Linked DNA regions of Homo sapiens: region 1 is linked to region 2. The links are contacts of gene promoters, found by promoter capture Hi-C in blood cells and fetal thymus (Javierre and others, 2016). All regions are on one chromosome and are shown on one strand. Each heading gives the region's core, a stretch centred on a gene start or on the middle of the fragment in contact. The rest is flanking DNA. Distances are from core to core; before and after follow the strand shown.

Region 1 (3,416 bases), core at 639-3,138, 810 kb before region 2:
ATCACCAAAAGGGCTTTGTTTATGTAGTGAACATAAGTGGTTGCCTTAACAGCATCCACTCCACATTCTTCTTCCTAACACAAACCCAATTTTGTTTAGTATACATCCCTTTTCCACACACCCATACACCTCCAAGGAAGCTCACCTCACTCTTAATCTCCTTCCAGTGATTGACTCAGAAATAGCATGTGATATATTCTAACCAAGAACATAGCCAGAGAAGTTGGTTAGAGGTTTCTGGAAAAGTAAATCTGCGAGTTACTGAAAGCCTCTCCCTTCCTCTTACTGGGCATGAATAAAGAAGCACTTAGCCCCAAACACTTTTGGCAGCCATATTATAACAATGAAGGAAATCAGCATTAGGATGGAGCTGATTCTGTGAATGGAAGGAGAGAGACAGAAACTTGGGTTCACAATGATATCATGAAACAACTAATCCCGAACCTCGCTCTGCCTCTGACTGTCTCATTTCCTTATTTTTTTTTAAAGCCAGATTGAGCTTGTGGCCAAAGCACCCTAACCAAAGTTTAGATTTGATTATTAGGCTATGGGAGTCTCTGAAGAGATTTAAGCCAGGGAGTGACAAAATAGGTTTGTATTTTGTAAGGGTGGCAGTGGTAGAAATGTTGAGGATGGATGGGTGGGATGGGAGATCAGCTAACATTTACGGGGGCTTCCTATATTCTCTGTATTAAACACTTTACATATAATAATTCATTTTACCCTTCCAAAACCCTACAAGGCATGTAATATTATCCATATCCGATATGAGGAATCTGAAGCCCAGACACATTAAGTTGTCAACACCACACAGCCAGTAATTGGCAGAGCCAGGATCTGAACTCCAATTTTACTTAGATACTCCTTCATCCCCCAGCCACATACATCAGGAGAAGCTCACCTCATACTCAATCTCAGACAGGCCTGATTGACATAAGAGTAAATCCAGCCCCTTTCCAGTGTCTGGCTCAGGAATAGGCCAGTGATCCAATTCTGGTCTGGCTTCTGACCACCAATTCATAGGGTTATCATAAGAACTAAATGAGCTATTATTTATAACATGCTTAATACATGGGAAGACCACAATAAATGGTAGCTATTGTTATTATTAAAAGCTTCTATTATCAAGAACAACTGAGAAAGAATGTCCAAAGGAGGGCAAGAGAGAGTGGAGAAGCCAAGGGAAGAGTTTCTGGAAGGACACAGCAGGATGAAATGCCACGATGGAATAAAGTGATGTGAGAACTGGAAGAGTCTAGTTAGGACATAACAGGTGATTTTTTGCCAGAGTGTTGTTTGAAGAAGGGCTGAGATTGAAGCCAACCCACCAATGAAGAGTGAACCTGCACCTGAGTAGAGACAGTGGATACCTATTGCAGATTAGGAGTTTGTGGTGAAAAGGAGGCAGGAAAAGGATGGTAGTGGGAGAAATCTCTAAATGGGGCATGTTTATAAACTTTGAGGCAGTAGCTAGCAAAGGTAACATGGAAAATTCAGGAGAGAGAAACAATGATGGGACAGGTTCTAAAGGAGCCTGAAAGAGAAAGCATCAAGCCCACAGGTAGAGGGAGGTATTAGTCATGAAGAATTGATCCATCTTCCACCCTCTTAAGACTGGGAGGGAGGAGGTAAGGGTAAGTTCAGATACAGATGAACTTATAGGTATGGCAGTAGAAGGCACACCTATGAAATAGTTCACTTTTCTTAGTGAAATGGAGGCAGGGTTATCTGCTGAGAGTGTGAAGCAAGTAGTGGTTGAGGACAGTTGCTGTTGGATGAAGCTGGCCTTGGAGACAGGTTAAAACAATTCTAGACAGCTGAAGGCATAGCTAAATTAGAGACCAAAAATTTTTTGGCTCTAATATGTAGGAATATATGATTCTCTCCAACATGTCTCACCAGCCCAGGTGTATCTGTGAGAATCACCCTGACCATGTCTTCAGGCAGGTCATGAAGAGTTAGTGTGAGGTTGAAAATAATGGAAATGGGGACCATTTGACCACAACCCTCTCTGGTTCTTCATAGTCCTCTGAGGCCTCAGTTCTACAAACAAAATTGATGCCTACCTACAATTGGTACTGCCATCCACTACTGGCAAGGGGAAAGAAGTTTAAAGAACAGACTGTCATTCCCCAAATTCGAAGGGAAGAATCAAATTGTTAGTCTTTTACCTGGGCATCTCAGAGTGTTCTAAGATTACAGGTAATACAACAATATACTAATATTCATCCTTTGGTTAAGTTCTTCAGCTCTCAAATTTGATGTATGTTCTTTCTTTCATTCAAGATGAAACAAAGTTAAGGACATTCATTTTCAGGGCTTTATGTATAATAGATAGGATTAGTGGGATTAAGAACCACATGACATGTAAAATAAAACTACACAAATATTTAAATTATTTAGTATGTGTGCCTATGGCACATAACAATGTCATCCTGCTGTGTCAAGGGAACTTAAAGCATCTTTCCATTATTCATTCCCACAGTTACCTTTCAGGTAGGTACACAGCTAGGTTTTCTCTCTAAACCTAGCCAATAAGAGAAAAATGCCTCACTGTTAGAAAGAATTAAATAGAAATTTTTCTCCTTCCAAGCTGATTTCAATAAATTGCTTCAGGATGTTGTTTTAAAATTGCTATTGGTTATTTTAATTGATTTAATGAGAAGCTTTTTTTTCTTCTAAAAAATTAAGGCATGTTCTCTTCTTCCTCAAAAGAGAACAACAATAGTAAAAAAAAAAAAAAAAGAAAAAAAAAGAAAAGAAAAAATGGCTGTTGCTTCATAGGATATTACAAAACAATGAAAATATCAACTAACCACACAGAAGAGTATCACTGCTACACTCACCTTGCTCTGAGCCCATTCTTTCCTATGAAGTATTGCTCATGGAGGTAGTTGTTTTTTCAGAGTCTCATAATAGTAAATATGTCTAAAGCATTAGAGTGAACTAATCCTATTTCTATGCCTAAAATAGTGCTATCATCCTATCAAGTAAACATGAATCAAATAGAAAAGATTTCATAAGTTATAAAGGCAATTTTTTTTAGAGATGTCATCTGATTTAGAAGGCCAACATTGTAATTTTAATACTGGGATATAAAGAAAAATCACTGGGGCTGAGACATTAGAATTACCCCACTAGTTATTGAGGAGGTCAGAATTTACTTTGTCATTATAAGCATTCTAGGTTACTGAATGAGAGACTGGTGTACTTCAGTCAAAAAGCTTAACAATTTCCCTTTTATGTGTTTGATATGTGAATACAAAGTGACTAACATTTACTCCCTGGCCTCAAGAAGGTCCTTACAACTCTTGACTTTCTGAAAACCACTTTGAGACAACATCTGGTCAGCTCCTCAGTGTGACAGAGCTCAATGCCAAGTTGCAACACAGAAAGAACAGGAAGGCCTGCTGCCA
Region 2 (3,662 bases), core at 668-3,167:
TTCAAAGAGGGCATGACCTTGCTCTTGCTGACACCTTGATTTCTGACTTCTCACCTCCAGAAGTGTGAAAGAATAAATTTTTTGTTTCCTTGAACCACCGTTTGTGGTACTTTGTTACGGCAGTCCCTAGCTAACAAATACAGCTGGTGAGCTGTCATGGAAAACATAGAATAGGTAATAACAAACTTCATCATTTCAATAGTTTCAGAAACATAATTTCAAATTGATCCTTACAAATACCTTGTGAAGCAGCAGAACAGTTTACAGATAAGGAAGTGGACGATCAGAGGTATTAGGGACTTGACAGAAAGTGGCAGAAACAGAATCTGAACTCAAGTAAGGGGTCCTATTCAAATAATCTGACTCTATTAAGCAAAAAATTTAATCTCTTCCCACGTTTCTTAAAGTTTTCTTCCCCGTCACAACTCCAACTTCATTCTCCTGTCTCCAGGAATTTGCTTTCAAGGAGGATCATTGATCAGTAATTTGGACTTAAACATGAATTTTACTAATATCACATTCCAAATTTCTGCATTGTTACAGCCTTAGTTTTTGTTATGGAAATAGCTTATCCCCAACTACCCCGCTAACTCTAGTTACCAACCATTAGAGTAGGGCCTTTTTTTTTTTTTTTTTTTTTTTTGAGAGACAGGCTCTCACTCTTGTTGTTGCCCAGGCTGGAGTGCAGCGGCACAATCCCGACTCACTGCCGCTTTAGACTTCTTGGGCTCAAGGGATCCTCCCGCTTCGGCCTCCCAAAGTGCTGGGATTACAGGTGTGATCCTGCGCTCGGACAGTTGGGACATCTTAATACAGTATAACCTCATCTTAACTTGATTACATCTGCCAAGACTCTATTTCCAAATAGGGTCACATTCTGAGGTTCCCAGTGGACAAGAATTTTGGGGGGGGGGGCATCATTCAACCCAGTACACCAGCTAAATGTTGCTAGTCCTCACCGATTTACCCTTGAACCTCTTTTCTTATTGCACAGCCTCTCCTTTGACAGTCTTTTCCACTCCTATGCATAGATACAGTTAGAGCTAATATTTGCAGGAAAAAAATATTTTCACAGAAAGCTGTGAAGTGACAAAGATGTAAACAGTAATGTAAATGTTAAAAGTAGTGGCAAAAACAGCAATTACTTTTGCACCAACCTAATAGGGGCCTTTGCTTCAATGTTTCTTCTATTAAACCATCCCGACCGCTCCTCTATGGACAGATTCAAGATTCACAGACGCTACTCTAGCTGCTTAATTCTGGAGTAAAATAAAAACTTTCAGAAAGACTACTAACTAAAGTATTGTCTGTACGTATTATTCTCTAAAGCATCATTAGCATAGGCTTTGCAATTAGGAAGTCTGTGGGTTTGTTCCTGGCTCTGCCGTGGGACATTGGGAAAGTTAATCTCTCTGAGCGTCGGTCCCCACAGATAAGAAAACACATATTCTTGTTATTTCTTGAGAAGATTAAATATTAGGCAAAACGCCTAGCACAGAATAGGGTCTCAGCATCTTCTGCCCCCCAAGAGCATGAATCAAAGGTTCGGAATTGCGTCGTCTCTCGGCTGCCCCTTGGCAGCCAGGTCCTCAGTGACCTCTTCACAGTGAGCTGAGACCGAACCTCTTCACAGCCGCGCGTGGGTGCGGCTTTGGGGCGTGGTGGGAGGGAAGGATAGGGAGGCCGGCTCCGCCCCCTCAGGGCGACCGGCGCGCCTGATCGCCGCGGCCTCCGCGCCCCCGCACTCGGATTCGCGCCCGCCAGCGCCTCTTTTCCCCTAGTCCTGGCGACGGCAGCACCTGCAAGGGTGGGTCCAACGCGGAATGAGGCACAGCCTGGGACAGCCCGGGCCCGGCGCGCCGCGGCCGCGCGAGGCCCCCGCCGTCGCCGACGCCCGAGCGCCGGAGCCCCGGCCCCGCCCCGCGAGCGCCGAGACTTGTTGGCCGCGGAGACTGCGACCCTCTTCTCTCAGTCTGCCTTACTACCATGCCGCTCTACGAGGGCCTGGGGAGCGGCGGGGAGAAGACGGCGGTCGTGATCGACCTGGGAGAGGCCTTTACCAAGTGAGTGGCCGTGACGCCAGCTGTGTTCGACCCGAGGGGAGGGCGGGTGGCAGAGCCCCAGGCACTGCCTGGGTCCTCATCGCCGACTCGCTGGGCAGCTCCGGGCCTCCCCTTTTCTTCAACCAGCGCCCTTGCAAATAACAGCTCTTATTATTTCCTCCCTGGGCGATGCGAATCCGAGGATCGGGGTCTGACTCCCAGAGAGGCCCAGAAAGCTTCTGTTGAATTGCCCTCGTCGCCGCCCCTTGTCATCACCCCAAACCCAACAAACCCTTTGGGATCATCTGTGTAGGGGATGACAACCGTGACCTAGACCCCGCTTACCCTGGGCTCCTCAGTTGAGGAAGGCAGCCAACCGAATGTAAATGCTCGATGACGAATTTCATCATAAAATATTGAACGGAGTTTATTTTGGTGCTGAAAATGGAAAGATGTTTAAGACAGGGCTATCGCTGCTCAAGAATTAGGGAGACTGGGCACATTAAGAGGTGAAACCCTATAGATAAGATTCTGGAAATCCTTTGTTGGCTCCCCTAAACTCGAAGGTTAGATTTGACATGTTTTAAACAAACCAACTTGTAAACAATAGAGAGGAGGTTCTCAACCTTTCGGATGGCATAGATCTCTTTAATGGCTGGATGAAAACCACAAATGCACAAATCTTAAGGTACTTATACACAGTTTCAGGGAATTGGCAGACAATCAATGTGGTCCTGGGACCCTAGATTAAGAGTCCTTGTGATGGGCTCAACAGAGAGGGAAGTAACAGGCAATTACATCATATATGTATTTATGAAAATGAAACATTTGAAAAATCTTTTTATATCTCTAGGCACTTCCTGACGTGTAGTAGGTATTTAATAACTATTTATTGACTAAGTGGTTAAAAGAGCCTATTTAAAAATTGGACCCCAGGAACTCCAGAATTGGATTAAACATAGTCCTTGGTTAATGACATTCTCTTATTGTTCTATGCGAGGCCCTTCCTTATTTATATTTTCTTATTAAAATTATTTTGAAAGCGTAATAAACAGTTCGAGGCTTCTAGTCAAAGATAATTATTTTGGCTGTACTTGGAAGAAATAAGCAAAAAGCTATATTTGAAAAAGACAGCAGGAGGATGATAAGATAAATGTATGAAGTAAAAAAAAGGAATTGAAGTCTAATGGCTTGCATTCTGAGATGTTTGAGGAGCACTGATGCAAGTAAACATGGAGACGGGAATAGGAGGAGATGGAGAGAATTATTTGGGAATACGAGGAGAGCAGTATCAAAAACTAGACAGGACAAGAAGACAGGATGTTAAGACTAAACTAGTATGATGATCATTTTTAGCAACGTTTTTAGCAAATTTTTGTTTTACTAACATGAAACAAAAATGGAAATACCTAAATACTCAAGAAAAGAGCATCGTTTTTAAAATAATGAAATATGTGGTTTTAAAAATAATACTGTAATTCCAGCAGTTTGGAAAGCTGAGGCGGGCTGACCACTTGAGCCCAGTAGTTCAAGACCAGCCTGGGCAACATGGGGAAACCCAGCTCTACACAAAATACAAAATTTAGCCGGCGGTAGTGTCGTGCCCGAAATCCTAGCACT

The links. The method cuts DNA at HindIII sites, captures the fragments that hold promoters and counts their contacts. A CHiCAGO score of 5 or more calls a contact.
Region 1: a fragment that was not itself captured here is called in contact with the fragment with the promoter of ACTR10 in region 2 in 3 of 17 cell types (naive B cells, total CD4 T cells and M2 macrophages); the score reaches 5.7 in naive B cells.

Annotation. Positions count from the first base shown.
Region 1 is chr14:57,384,914-57,388,329 of GRCh38, forward strand. No RefSeq gene overlaps it. Among named protein-coding and RNA genes, the nearest start is that of NAA30, 4.0 kb to the right of the region's middle. The HindIII fragment of the contact is 1,551 bases long and covers 1,114-2,664 here.
Region 2 is chr14:58,198,232-58,201,893 of GRCh38, forward strand. ACTR10 (actin related protein 10) reads left to right here and starts at 1,918. Exons shown (of 13, transcript NM_018477.3): 1 at 1,918-2,063. The coding sequence starts at 1,987. RefSeq lists enhancers at 1,361-1,490, 2,111-2,300 and a silencer at 1,561-1,950. The HindIII fragment of the contact is 4,366 bases long and covers 1-2,276 here.